Regions from separate parts of the Homo sapiens genome. Here region 2 is linked to region 1. Evidence: promoter capture Hi-C in 16 types of primary human blood cells and fetal thymus (Javierre and others, 2016). All regions are on one chromosome and are shown on one strand. Each heading gives the region's core, a stretch centred on a gene start or on the middle of the fragment in contact. The rest is flanking DNA. Distances are from core to core; before and after follow the strand shown.

Evidence for each region. The method cuts DNA at HindIII sites, captures the fragments that hold promoters and counts their contacts. A CHiCAGO score of 5 or more calls a contact.
Region 2: a contact is called between the fragment with the promoter of PIP here and the fragment with the promoter of TAS2R60 in region 1, in 10 of 17 cell types (neutrophils, naive CD8 T cells, total CD4 T cells and 7 more). The highest score is 18.1, in neutrophils.

The regions. Positions count from the first base shown.
Region 1 is chr7:143,440,523-143,446,199 of GRCh38, reverse strand. TAS2R60 (taste 2 receptor member 60) reads right to left here and starts at 2,747. Exons shown (of 1, transcript NM_177437.1): 1 at 1,791-2,747. The coding sequence starts at 2,747. The coding sequence ends at 1,791. All of the region lies in intron 2 of EPHA1-AS1 (EPHA1 antisense RNA 1), which reads right to left. The HindIII fragment of the contact is 8,585 bases long and covers 1-5,677 here.
Region 2 is chr7:143,128,827-143,134,503 of GRCh38, reverse strand. PIP (prolactin induced protein) reads right to left here and starts at 2,427. Exons shown (of 4, transcript NM_002652.3): 1 at 2,293-2,427. The coding sequence starts at 2,387. The HindIII fragment of the contact is 4,172 bases long and covers 472-4,643 here.

The sequences.
Region 1 (5,677 bases), core at 1,498-3,997:
TGGTAATGTCCAATTAGTGGAAGAAAATATAGGATTGGAGTTTAGAGAAAGGTCAAGGCTTTGGTAATTATCAACATGAAGGGCATAATTGAAGCTATGTGAGTAGATTTAAACACAAAGGAAAGAGATCAGATATCATCTCAAAGGAAGAAGAGGGCTGGCTAAGGACAGAACCAAGAGGCAGGAGGATGAGTGGTTAGTGAAGGGGACACAAAAAGAAGCGATGGGAACTGGAAGAAGATCCTAGCATCCGTCGCCAAGAGAACAACTTTTAGAAAGATGCGCAGATGGGCAATTATGGGTGAGGTTTAGTTTCCCTTTTAAAAAAATCTTTCACCAAGATCAGCAGTACTTTTGTAAAAATATTTTTCATCAGTTTATTTTAAGGAAATCATTTGTTATCAACAGAGGCAAATACAACAGAGACATGGGAGGATAAGGGCTGGGGACAATATCACATTTAGTGACAAAGAGATCGTGTGTGTCCCTGTAGAAACAAACATGTTTCAGCAGAACAGGGAAGCAGGAGAGGATTGGAAGGCACACGGGAAGACCCTGCAAGTGACTCATTGGCAGCACAGGGGTACAGGGAGGGGGAGGAGCGAGACAGATAAGGGGATTGTTTTCAGGAAAAAAGTTTAGAGGCACATTTGTTGAAGAAGGGAAGGACAATAAAGAGGGAAAGTTGGAAGATTTGTGTAGAAGTAGAAATCCTTGACCTAGCAGCAGAGAGAAAACAGGCAGGAGCAGGGCTAGGATCACAGATGTCAGCCTTGAAAAGCCAAAAACAGAGACCAGTCCTCTAATGTAGAGTGTGGTGGAGGTAAAAACCAGGAAAGGAGGCGGAGAGATTTTAAAGTGAATGGAGGAAACTTGAGGGTTGTCTCGTTTGAATGATTCAGGGAGTAACTGAACTTAAAGAACGTTTGAGAGGAGCTGGGAAAAGCAGAAAGGCAGTCTGAACATGGTTCACCAAACACAAAGGCTTTTTCTTCTTAAATCTTAGGTCTTAGACAGATACAGATAAACTTCCCCATGTCAGTAGGGGAATTACAATAGGTCCCAATATCAATCAAAAGAAGTTACATCTGAACCCACAGACCTTAACAAATACAGAGGAGACTAACAGGCTGGGCTATTATAGAGAACATGAACCACATACAAATCATAGACCCCTGGCACTCAGAGGGATCTCCAAAGGTCATCGGAGAATACACACATCCCTGGCAACACACACTGCCACACACATGCACCAATTACACTATGCTCTGTGTAGAAGGTTTAGACACCAGAAACTCTTCCATGGAAAGAAGGAGAGAGGCACCACATTAGATGGCCAGAAAACTTTGAATTGATGAGAAGGGAAAGGTGGTTCACAGGACAAAGCCTGAGAAAACTGCAGTTCCAAAAACATGCCCCAGTTCGATTGAACAGATAAAATATTGCATGAAGTTTGAGGATCTTTGCATCCAGTTCCCAGAATGATTATTTTAAATACGAAGAGATCGATCACAGGAAAAATAAAGGCTTCTGGATTCTTTGACCACATCAGGTCCCACAGGAACCATGGCCACATGAACTATGCACTTGGTGAGTACATAACATGACACTAGCCCATATTTCAGGACCTTTACTCTCACCTTGTATCCTATTTCATTGAAGTTATTTTTCTAATCATTAACTGTAGCAACAGAGAGAAAACATTCAATGTGGCAAAGAGAGAAGCTATGTCCCTTTGAGTCCATGCCTTCTCCACAAGAATCTCCTTGAAGTTTTTCATCAGCTGTGGCTCAAGGTGTCCCACACCTTGAGGAACGACGACTCTTCAGCACAGCTCTCAGCCTGCAGTTGCTGAAGAGCAGAATGATGGGGTGAACTGCTGCACACAGATAAATCACTGACTCCCACACCCAGAATTTAAAGTCCAGAGGTGGAAAAATACCTGCAGCACTGAACACCAGTGACAGGAAATATGAGATGAAGAGCATGGCAAAAGAGAGGAGAGCCAGCAGAGCCTTTATGTGTGCCTGCACACTGGGCTCTCGGAATCCTGAGGTTGTAAGGAGAGCCTTCTTCCTGTGTCTTCCCAGAGATGTGATGAGCAAAATCATGCAAATGAAAAAGACAGCAGTGGGCATTGTCCAAGTAATCATTTTTAGAGGGAAGAGATAGAATTTCTCACAGTAGCTCCGTATGCTATCGCCAGTGACATTCCAAGGTTGTAGATGGTTCCTTAAATAGTTCTGATACATTCTGTGGTTGCCTATGAAAAATAGAATGGTGGTGAAGCTGGAGAGCCCTACAGAGCTGAAGAGCATCCATGGTAGCCACCCAGACAACTTGTGCTTTAGCCAGAAGAAGACAGGGTGGGTGAAGGTAGCAATTTTCACACAATAGAAGACACTGAGCCAGGTAGAGGACCATAAGGTGGCAGCATTCAGGAAGTCCCACTGGAAAGCTAGAAACTGCAGTACAGGGTTGTATGGGAAGGCCATCGGATGCAAGAAAACATAAATGGTCTTACCCATTACCACTGACTGCAGACAGAAGCGAGAGGCCCCTAGGCTAACCAATAACTTATCACAAGGCAACAACATTCTCCGTAGCACCCACTCCACGCCCAGAGCAGCAGTGATGAAGCCATTGCCTGCTATTGCTACCAGGCGTAAAAGGAGTAAAATGGTAACCAAGATGATGGCCTTCTTGTCAGTCACCGAAGATCCTAGAACCATGTGGTCTCCATTCATCTCTCTGGTGGACAAGATGGGTCCCAAAACTTCAAGGGCTATCTCTGTTGGGTTGCTCTGGAAGGTCCTGTAGGATATGTTTGTCCCTCCAGCTGCCCCAAGCGCAGAAGCTAGGCCAGAGTAGAGGACGCAGGCTATCAGAGGAGGGTGAGAGGTTTTTTCTTCTCAGAGTAGATGCAAATATTGTCAAGGCTCAATTTTCAAAGTCCCCATACCTGCCCAAAAATTTGCCTGCTCTTCTGCCTATTCTCTGCCCATGTCAACATCAAAGTGGATAATATATCAGGCCCTGGCATTTAGTGTCCTTACACAGGAGGTTATACTTCTCTAAGCGGACACCTATGACAGGACCATGCACCTGCCAGCTCAGTAGTATCATCCGTGGGGCACACCCGCTACTGAGACAGCGCTCACATCCACGGGGGGGGGGTGATTGTTATGTTGCAGGCATTGTTCTGAGTGCTCTCCTTAGTTCTCACAACAACTCTATGCGGGGAGTAGTATGGCAAGACCCCTTTAACTGAGACAGAGAGAAAACTGAGCAAACCTTTACAGAGAAGGATTAATTCAAGTCTTATTACTCACAGTGACCATCATCATAAAAAAAGAACACTGGAGACAATTATACATAATGAGGCAGGCAACTTTTTTCAAAATTTAAAAATATATATTTGATAACTGGTGGCCTCTAAAATAGCACTTCACAGAGGAACCCCCAGTAGCGATAAGCCAATGGGATATGGCAGAATGAGCCCTGTGCTAGGAGTCGAGACAGCCTTTAGTCCAAACTTTACCCCTTACTGTGAGTTGCTGGATATGTCAGCCCCTCTGCGCCTCATTTTGTCCATCTGTAAAATATGAAAAGTATCCTATGTTCTAATTCACAAAGATGTCTTAGAATCTCGGCTTAGAATGAAAGAAGACATGAAAGATAATCTTACAGATAAAAGAAATAAGACCCCAAATTATATATTACAACTCCCACCTAAAGTCACAGTTACACAGAGGAAAGACCAAGATCCAAACTGATTCCAGGACCAGGAATCTCTGCCATGGTTAGCAATACATGTTACACCTCCATCTTCTTCATCCCTAGCTGAACTCAGAAGCCCAAGTTTTGAGTCTTGTCACAATCACTACGGATCCTCAAGCAGTTAACCTCTCTGAACACCCCCCTTTCTTCACCTATAAAAAATATGGGTCACAAATAAATATGACCATAAATATGGTAAATATATTGGAAATTATAAACCTCTGCATATGGACAAGGAGCAATGATGATGATGACAATTACTTTATTAGAATGGCTATCTTCTATTCCATCCATCCTGTGGCATAATAAGTAGCATAAGGAGAATTCAGGAGAGCATCAGGGATGCAACAGAAGTTCAGGGCACCAAATGTCAGACCACTGATATCAACCAGAGAAGGACAGAGTAAAAAAAAGACCACATTCTTTATAGAAATCAGCTTCAAAGAGTCAAAAAAATCAGCAATCAACACCCAGGTGAGTGTAAGTAGGTTAACGTGTCACAGGGAGATAGGAAAGCAGGAATTGTTCTGGGTCAAATACAGCAATATTGAAGGCTCAGGATCAAGTAACATGACAGTAAGGGGATTTGTAATGAATACACATCTGCTGACACCACAACCTACCAGTTCCATATATAGGACCCCCACAAAAAGGGAATAGAACGCATGTCAGCATCTCTTCCCAGTTCCCAGTCTACTTCCCAGTAGTCCACTTCCAGGTGGAATTGTTTCTTTAACACATACGCCAACCATAGTGGACATAGGTCTTCGGAGTAAAGGAAATAAGATGAACTAAGGTAATTCACTCTGCCTTTCTGTGAAGATGCAAATTTCCAGGAGATAGAGTTCCCAACTGCTCTCTTCCTTGCCCTTGTTCTTCTGGCTGACATTTGGCTGTTTTCTACTGGAACTTGGAGAAATGGGGCAAACTTCGGGCTTATAGCTCTGGAGTATGGCCACCTACAAACCGCCCAATATGGAAAACTTGAATCTTTTTCATCCACCTCCCACACCTTCAATGATAAAGATGTGCATTTAACCTTCAATTCATTTAATAATAATTTATTAAGCATATCCTATATGCCATGATAACCCTTTGAAAGACATTGGGCTACAACAGTGAATTAGATATCTGCCTTCAAAGCACTTTTATGGGCTAAACATAAACCACAAACATTTACTGGACATATACTATGTGCAGAGTAAGTTAATCCAAAAGAGGGAATAATCATTTGAATTTAAATATGCAATGTGTTTCGTGGTGATTCTTTTGTTGTTTGTTGTTTGTTTGTTTGTTTGTTGCATTTGGCTTTCTCATGTCTAGATTTATCTTCTTAGGTAAAAGTCAAGTCTGAGAGTTTTTAACTTTTCATAACCAGTCTTTATAAATGTAATCATGAGGGTAGTAGGATAGGGATCCTGAGTTAGCTCTCTATATGGAAAACCTTCAACTCAGTACTCTCAACAAGTGACTCCCAGTCTGTGGCTCTATGTGTTAGGGATCTTGCTATTCCCATCCCAAGATCTCTCAGAAGAGTTGAGAAGTAACAGCCCCATAATTGTGAGACAATAAAGATGCTGTCTTGCATGTTGGAAGGAAAAAGATGAGGCATCAGTAAAGGAGGGGGATACATGATTATATCCAGAACAATTAGATACATTTAGCTACAACAGAGGACTTACATAGAGAAGATGGCATATCAAGCCAAAAAGGTAGGCTGGAGAGAGATCACAGAAAATTTTGGAAGCCTTGATGAGATATTAGATTGTATCTTTAGTCAAGACAGAGCCACCAAGTGTTTTGGGGCTTTTATGAGCTAGAGTTTTAAAAAGGAGATTGAGAACATCAATTAGGAACTCCTGAGACAAGTCCACTTAACCTGGTATCACTCGAAGGG
Region 2 (5,677 bases), core at 1,178-3,677, 310 kb after region 1:
GTGATCAGGGGACACTTCTATACTGCTGACGGGAATGTAAACTGCTACAACCACTATGTAAAACAGTGTGGAGATTCCTTAAAGAACTAAAAATAGAACCACCATTTGATCCAGCAATCCCACTACTGGGTATCTACCCAGAGGAAAAGAAGTCATTATTCAAAAAAGATACTTGCACACACATGTTTATAGCAGCACAATTCACAATTATAAAACTGTGGAACCAACCCAAATGCCCATCAATCAACGAGTGGATAAAGAAACTGTGGTATATATATATATATATATATATATATATATATATATATATATATATATATGATGGAATACTACTACTCAGCCATAATAAGGAATGAATTAACAGCATTTGCAGTGACCTGTATGAGATTGGAGACTATTATTCTAAGTGAAGTAACTCAGTAATGGAAAACCAAACATCGTATGTTCTCACTGATATGTGGGAGCTAAGCTTTGAGGACTCAAAAGCATAAGAATGATACAATGGACTTTGGGGACTTGCGGGGAAGAGTGGGAGAGGGGTGAGGGCTAAAAGACTACAAATATGGTGCAGTGTATACTGCTCGGGTGATGGGTGCACCAAAATCTCATCACCACTAAAGAACTTACTCATGTAACCAAATACCACTTGTACCCCAGTAACTTATGGAAAAATAAAATAAAATAATAAAAAATTTTAAAAACCCAGCAAACATCTCAATGCACTGGAGGTATTTGTAGGAGCATCTTTGAAGATCCTCCTTCTGTGGTCCCCAGGTAGGGTTTAGGAATTTGTATTTATTTAGCTCCTTAGGAAATTTGGACATATGGCCATGTTTGGGAACTTTAGATACTACTCTACATTTAGACCATACACTGCAATCTGAAAAGGAAAGGAAATGGAGACAAATAAAATGGTCAAATGTTCTTCTTCAGTCAATGAGGACTGGGTTCGGGGCCAGGAGAGTTATTTTCTCGTCCCTAGAAACTCCCGGCTACGGACCTTTGTTATTGTGTGGGACAGAAGGGAATTGAGATTCTTAGCCCACAGTGTCTCACAGCCCCATTTTCTTGGGGCAAAGCATCTTAGAGAGATTCTATTTTTTGGTGCCAACTGCTGTAGTGCCCAGTGCACAGGAAAAGGGTATAAATACCTAAGCAACTTCAAAATCTCTCCCATTTGTATATGAGTTTCAGATTGATAGGATGACCAGCTTAGTTCGAGTGACTAACCATCTCAGTTTACCCAGGACTGAGGTCTTTTCCAGAATGGGTTGTGGAGGTGGCGGGGGAGGGCAGAGTTGCAGTGCTACAACCAGGAAAGTTCTGGGCAAATCAGGATGGATGGTTGATAACCTAATTAGCATAGCTTATTTGAATACCTTGCTGCCCTTCAGGGCTAAGTGGACTGTCATCTGGCGGGAATGGGGTGGGATCTGAACCTGTCCCCATGCAGGGTTTCTTGGGACACTTGCCTCCATTACATTAGCTTGTCAAAACCCTGAACAGTTTCCTCCAGGACAGGATATCTGACCATGCCATAGAGAGTACCTCCAAGATCACAACCCAGAAACCCAGCATTATAAACCCTACTGCTATAGAGAAAACTCCCTAGATTGGGTATCGCTGCTTTCTCCCAGACCCTTGGCTCCATTTTCTACTTTATTTTACTTGCTCCAATTTTTCTGCTTCCTTCACACATGTGTTCTCAATAAGTTGACTTCTGAACCTGTGCTCTCAGGTCCCAGTATACGTGAGAGCAAGAGGTCATCATATTCATCTTCAGACTTCAGGTTAGGAAGAATGTCTAAGCTGCCAGTCTAGCTCAATCTCAGACCACAGGGCAGTGGCCAGGGCCTCTGGTCCTTTAGCCAGTCCTGCCAAAGCTGCCCTAAGCTGCCATTGGAATTCACAGACCTGTTATGCTTCTCTTCTAGGAGGCAAGGTGTGAGAAGGTAAAGTTTACTGAGCAGAAATCTGAACAAAGGTATAAATTATGAACAAGATGTGGATCAGCATGTTAGATGAAGACTAACTACTAATTACAGCCTGTAGGTACATTTGGAGCTTTATTTCCACTGGCAATGCAGAAACACCCAGCAAAAATGTGAGAGGAGTTGGTGGGGCTTCCTAAGAGGACAAGAAGTGGAACCTGGCAGGAGATCCATGGGAGCTCCTGGGACTAGAGTTCTGGGAAGTTGAAAGAAATTCTCAGAAAGAGATATGTAATTTCCAGACTGGGAGAGGAGCCCTCCCTGCAATTTTTTTTGTGGGGAGGAGAAGGGCATGGCTCACGTGTTGTCCTGAGCTTTGTTGGCCCCCAACTGCAGGCAGAGAACCAGGAGCAGGGTGGCAGGGCTGGCCCTGAACAGGAGCTGGAGCAAGCGCATGCTGGAGAAAACAGAAGGCAATGTGTCCCAGAGAAGTGGTGTCCCAGGTGCCCAGCACATTTCTTATATACAGATTGATCAAGGAAGTGCAAGAGCTGCCAGGGAGATCCATGAGGTGAATCACCCATTCACCCTCCCCACTCGTGATCTTTCCTTGTTGACCCAAAGTTTGTTTTTCTAAGAAAAAATCAACACTCAGCTAGAATGTCAGCGTTTGAGAGAGGAGTCAGATTGTTCTTCCTTATTTTTTCAGCATCAGAGTTTCTCAAAATGGCTGGGACCTCAAAAGATACACCAGTTTTTCCCGAGTTTACAGATTCAGTTTTCTTTTCCCTCCTAATTTGCCTGTCTGAAGTGCTATGTGTAGTCTTAGCTTCAGTCACTGCTCCCCTGGTCTCTGAAAGCAGAGAACACAGCTGTGGTGGCAGGTTTCAGACCAGAGACATAGAACATCTTTGCTTGATCAAATTATAGTGAGTTCAAGATGCAATGCTATTCAAAACATTTCTTGGAGGGCTAGGATGATCAGGACTTCCCTAGCAGTCACTACCCATCATGAGGTGGAAGAGCTAGAGAAGACCTGAGCTGCTCTACATGATGGGGAAGTGAGTTCAAGACACTGGGTGATGTAAAGATGTTTATTGTCATTGAGTCCTTCTTAATTTCAGGTGTGGTTGCAATATACTGCAGATGTCCAAGATCCCCAGCTGCCCCACAATCCCCAAGGCAGGGTGATATTTTAATTCTAGACAATTCCTATAAATAGCTGGCACCCCCAAATCAGACTTCTTGGCACCAAAGAGCTGGCTTATTTTCTTATTGACATGGCCACTTTCTTACACTTGTCTCATGCGTAAGCCACACAGGAAGAACCACAGTGGAAAGGATTCCTTCTGTGAGAATGGAGCCCACATTATGTCCAGTAGATACCCAGGTTGTAGAATTCCTCTCCTTGGGATGATGGGGAGACTTGCTCTTGCTGACACTGGCATTGTGTTATTTCTCCTTATGAAATTAAATCTGCTCCTTAACCTATGACTTACAATACTATGGGATTTGTTTCTATCATTTGCATGGCACACAGCTGCCCAGGAAGAGCCTCTCTGGCAACAGAGTGAAAATCAGAGTTCTAGGAGTTACCGCCTCTGTATGTTGCTTTAGCCAGGATTCAGAGCTAAAGTGTAAGTGTGTGCTTCTGCTTTCTGGATGTATCTCTCAAAATTGCTCTGTCTGTTTATTCAGCTCCTGGATCTACCTTCTCTTTTCTTTGAATTGGACACCATTCATGTCATTGCTCACTCAGAACTTCAGCTGTTCTCATGATCACATGCTTTCTTCCCTGTTTATGTCCTATCCACTCAAGAACACTGCTTGTGAGGGTCACAATGACCTTCCTTTGTAAGCCTTTTCCCACAATTAAATTGTCTTTACACCTGGTCCTTCTCACTTGCATAATTTCCATTTGAAGCACATCCTAGCTACACTGACCAAGGCAGGCATAAGGCAGAAGAATCTAGGAAGTGTCTGTGTGGGAAAATGCAGGAAAAGTTCTTTGCTTGGCTCTTTGAAGGCATAGCCCTGTCCTTGAGGATGCAACTCCAGCACTCCCAAAAGGCAGTGTCCAGAGGAAGGCAGATGACGATGGGTTAAGAGCATCTATTGAAGGTAATGAGGCTGTTCTTCTGTGAGCTAGCAGGAAACTGCAATACCTACAATGTACAGGACAATCTTTTTTTTTTGAGACAGAATCTCACTCATCCAGGCTGGAGTGCAGTGGCATGATCTCAGCTCACTGCAGCCTCCACCTCCCGGGTTCAGGAAATTCTCATGCCTCAGCCACCCGAGTAGTGGGGATTATAGGCAGGTGCCACCATACCCGGCTAATTTTTGTATTTTTGGTAGAGATGGGGTTTCACCATGTTGGCCAAGCTGATCTTACATTCCTGACCTCAAGTGATCCACCTGCCTCGGCCTCCCAAATTGCTGGGATTACAGGTGTGAGCCACTGTGCCTGGCCTAGGACAAGTCTTATTCAGGCCATGACTGCTGTGATGGTTACTTTTATTTGTTAGCTTAGCTAGGCATGGTGCCCACTTTTTGGAAAAACAACAGTTTAGAAGTTGCTGTGAAGTTGTTGTTTGTTTGTTTGTTTTAAATGTGATTAACATTTAAATCAGTAAAATTTGAGTAAAACAGATTACCTCCATAATATGGGTCAGACTCATTGGATCAGTTGAAAGTCTTAAGAGAAAAGCTTGAGGTCCCTTGAGGAAGAAGATTAGGGAGAAAAAGAAACCATAATTATTATGCCATAAAGAATGAACAAGTCTAGGTTTAAGAAATCAGATAAAGGTTGATAAAATCAGATTGTAAACAACTCAGGAAGCTTACAGAAGAGAATGTGTATAGTCCCATAGGGAAAGAGTTAGAATATAGGTGAGGCTTGCCACAGGCTAAGTTTACAAAGAGAAAGATAATCTTAGTCCTGACAGGGCTCATGAGAAGAAGATAAGGAGTGGACAGAGAGGGAGTTATAGACACCAACACACATGAAGCATATGCTGTGTGCATTACACTGCTCTAAACATTTTAACATATATTAGCTCAATCTTTATTACAACCCTGTGAAGGTGGTTGCCATTTTTATTCCATTTTACAAGAGGAGAAACAGAGACCCAGGAGATAAATATCTAACCCAGACCATATAGCCAGTATATGGCAGAGTCAACTTTGCAAGCAGGTTTTGTGGAATCTGAGTTTTGATTTACAGTATCTGAGAACCTCTTTTTGAAATAGAATCCAAACTTACAAATGTAAACTACAGGTACAGGATCTTGGAGGAGGCACCCATAAGTAGGAAGCCCTGAGGCTTCATGCCATTAACTTAATGGCGAATACACCTTTGGGTGGGGCCAGAATTTCCACGCTGGCAGTCTGGCCCTGGAACATGACCCTTTAACCACTGCACTGCCTACTGGCGAGAACAAGTTGCAAAGTTAGTAACTGGCAGAGTTAGGGGTTCAAAATCAAGTAGTCTGATACCAGAGTTTATGTCCTTAAACACTTGTCTAGTCTATTTATTGATGTAGCAACAGTTTAAAGTTGAGAAAAGGAAACTCACAGAGGTTTTAATAAGTTGTTCAAGTCACAGAGCCAACAAATAACAAAGGTATTGAAGTTTGGCTTGGCCATATGACTAAGCCAAACCATTGGAACCCAGATAGAAGTGAATCCGGAGTTGGCACTTAGAGTGACTACTCTATATTTCCTCTTACTTAATAAAAGCATAA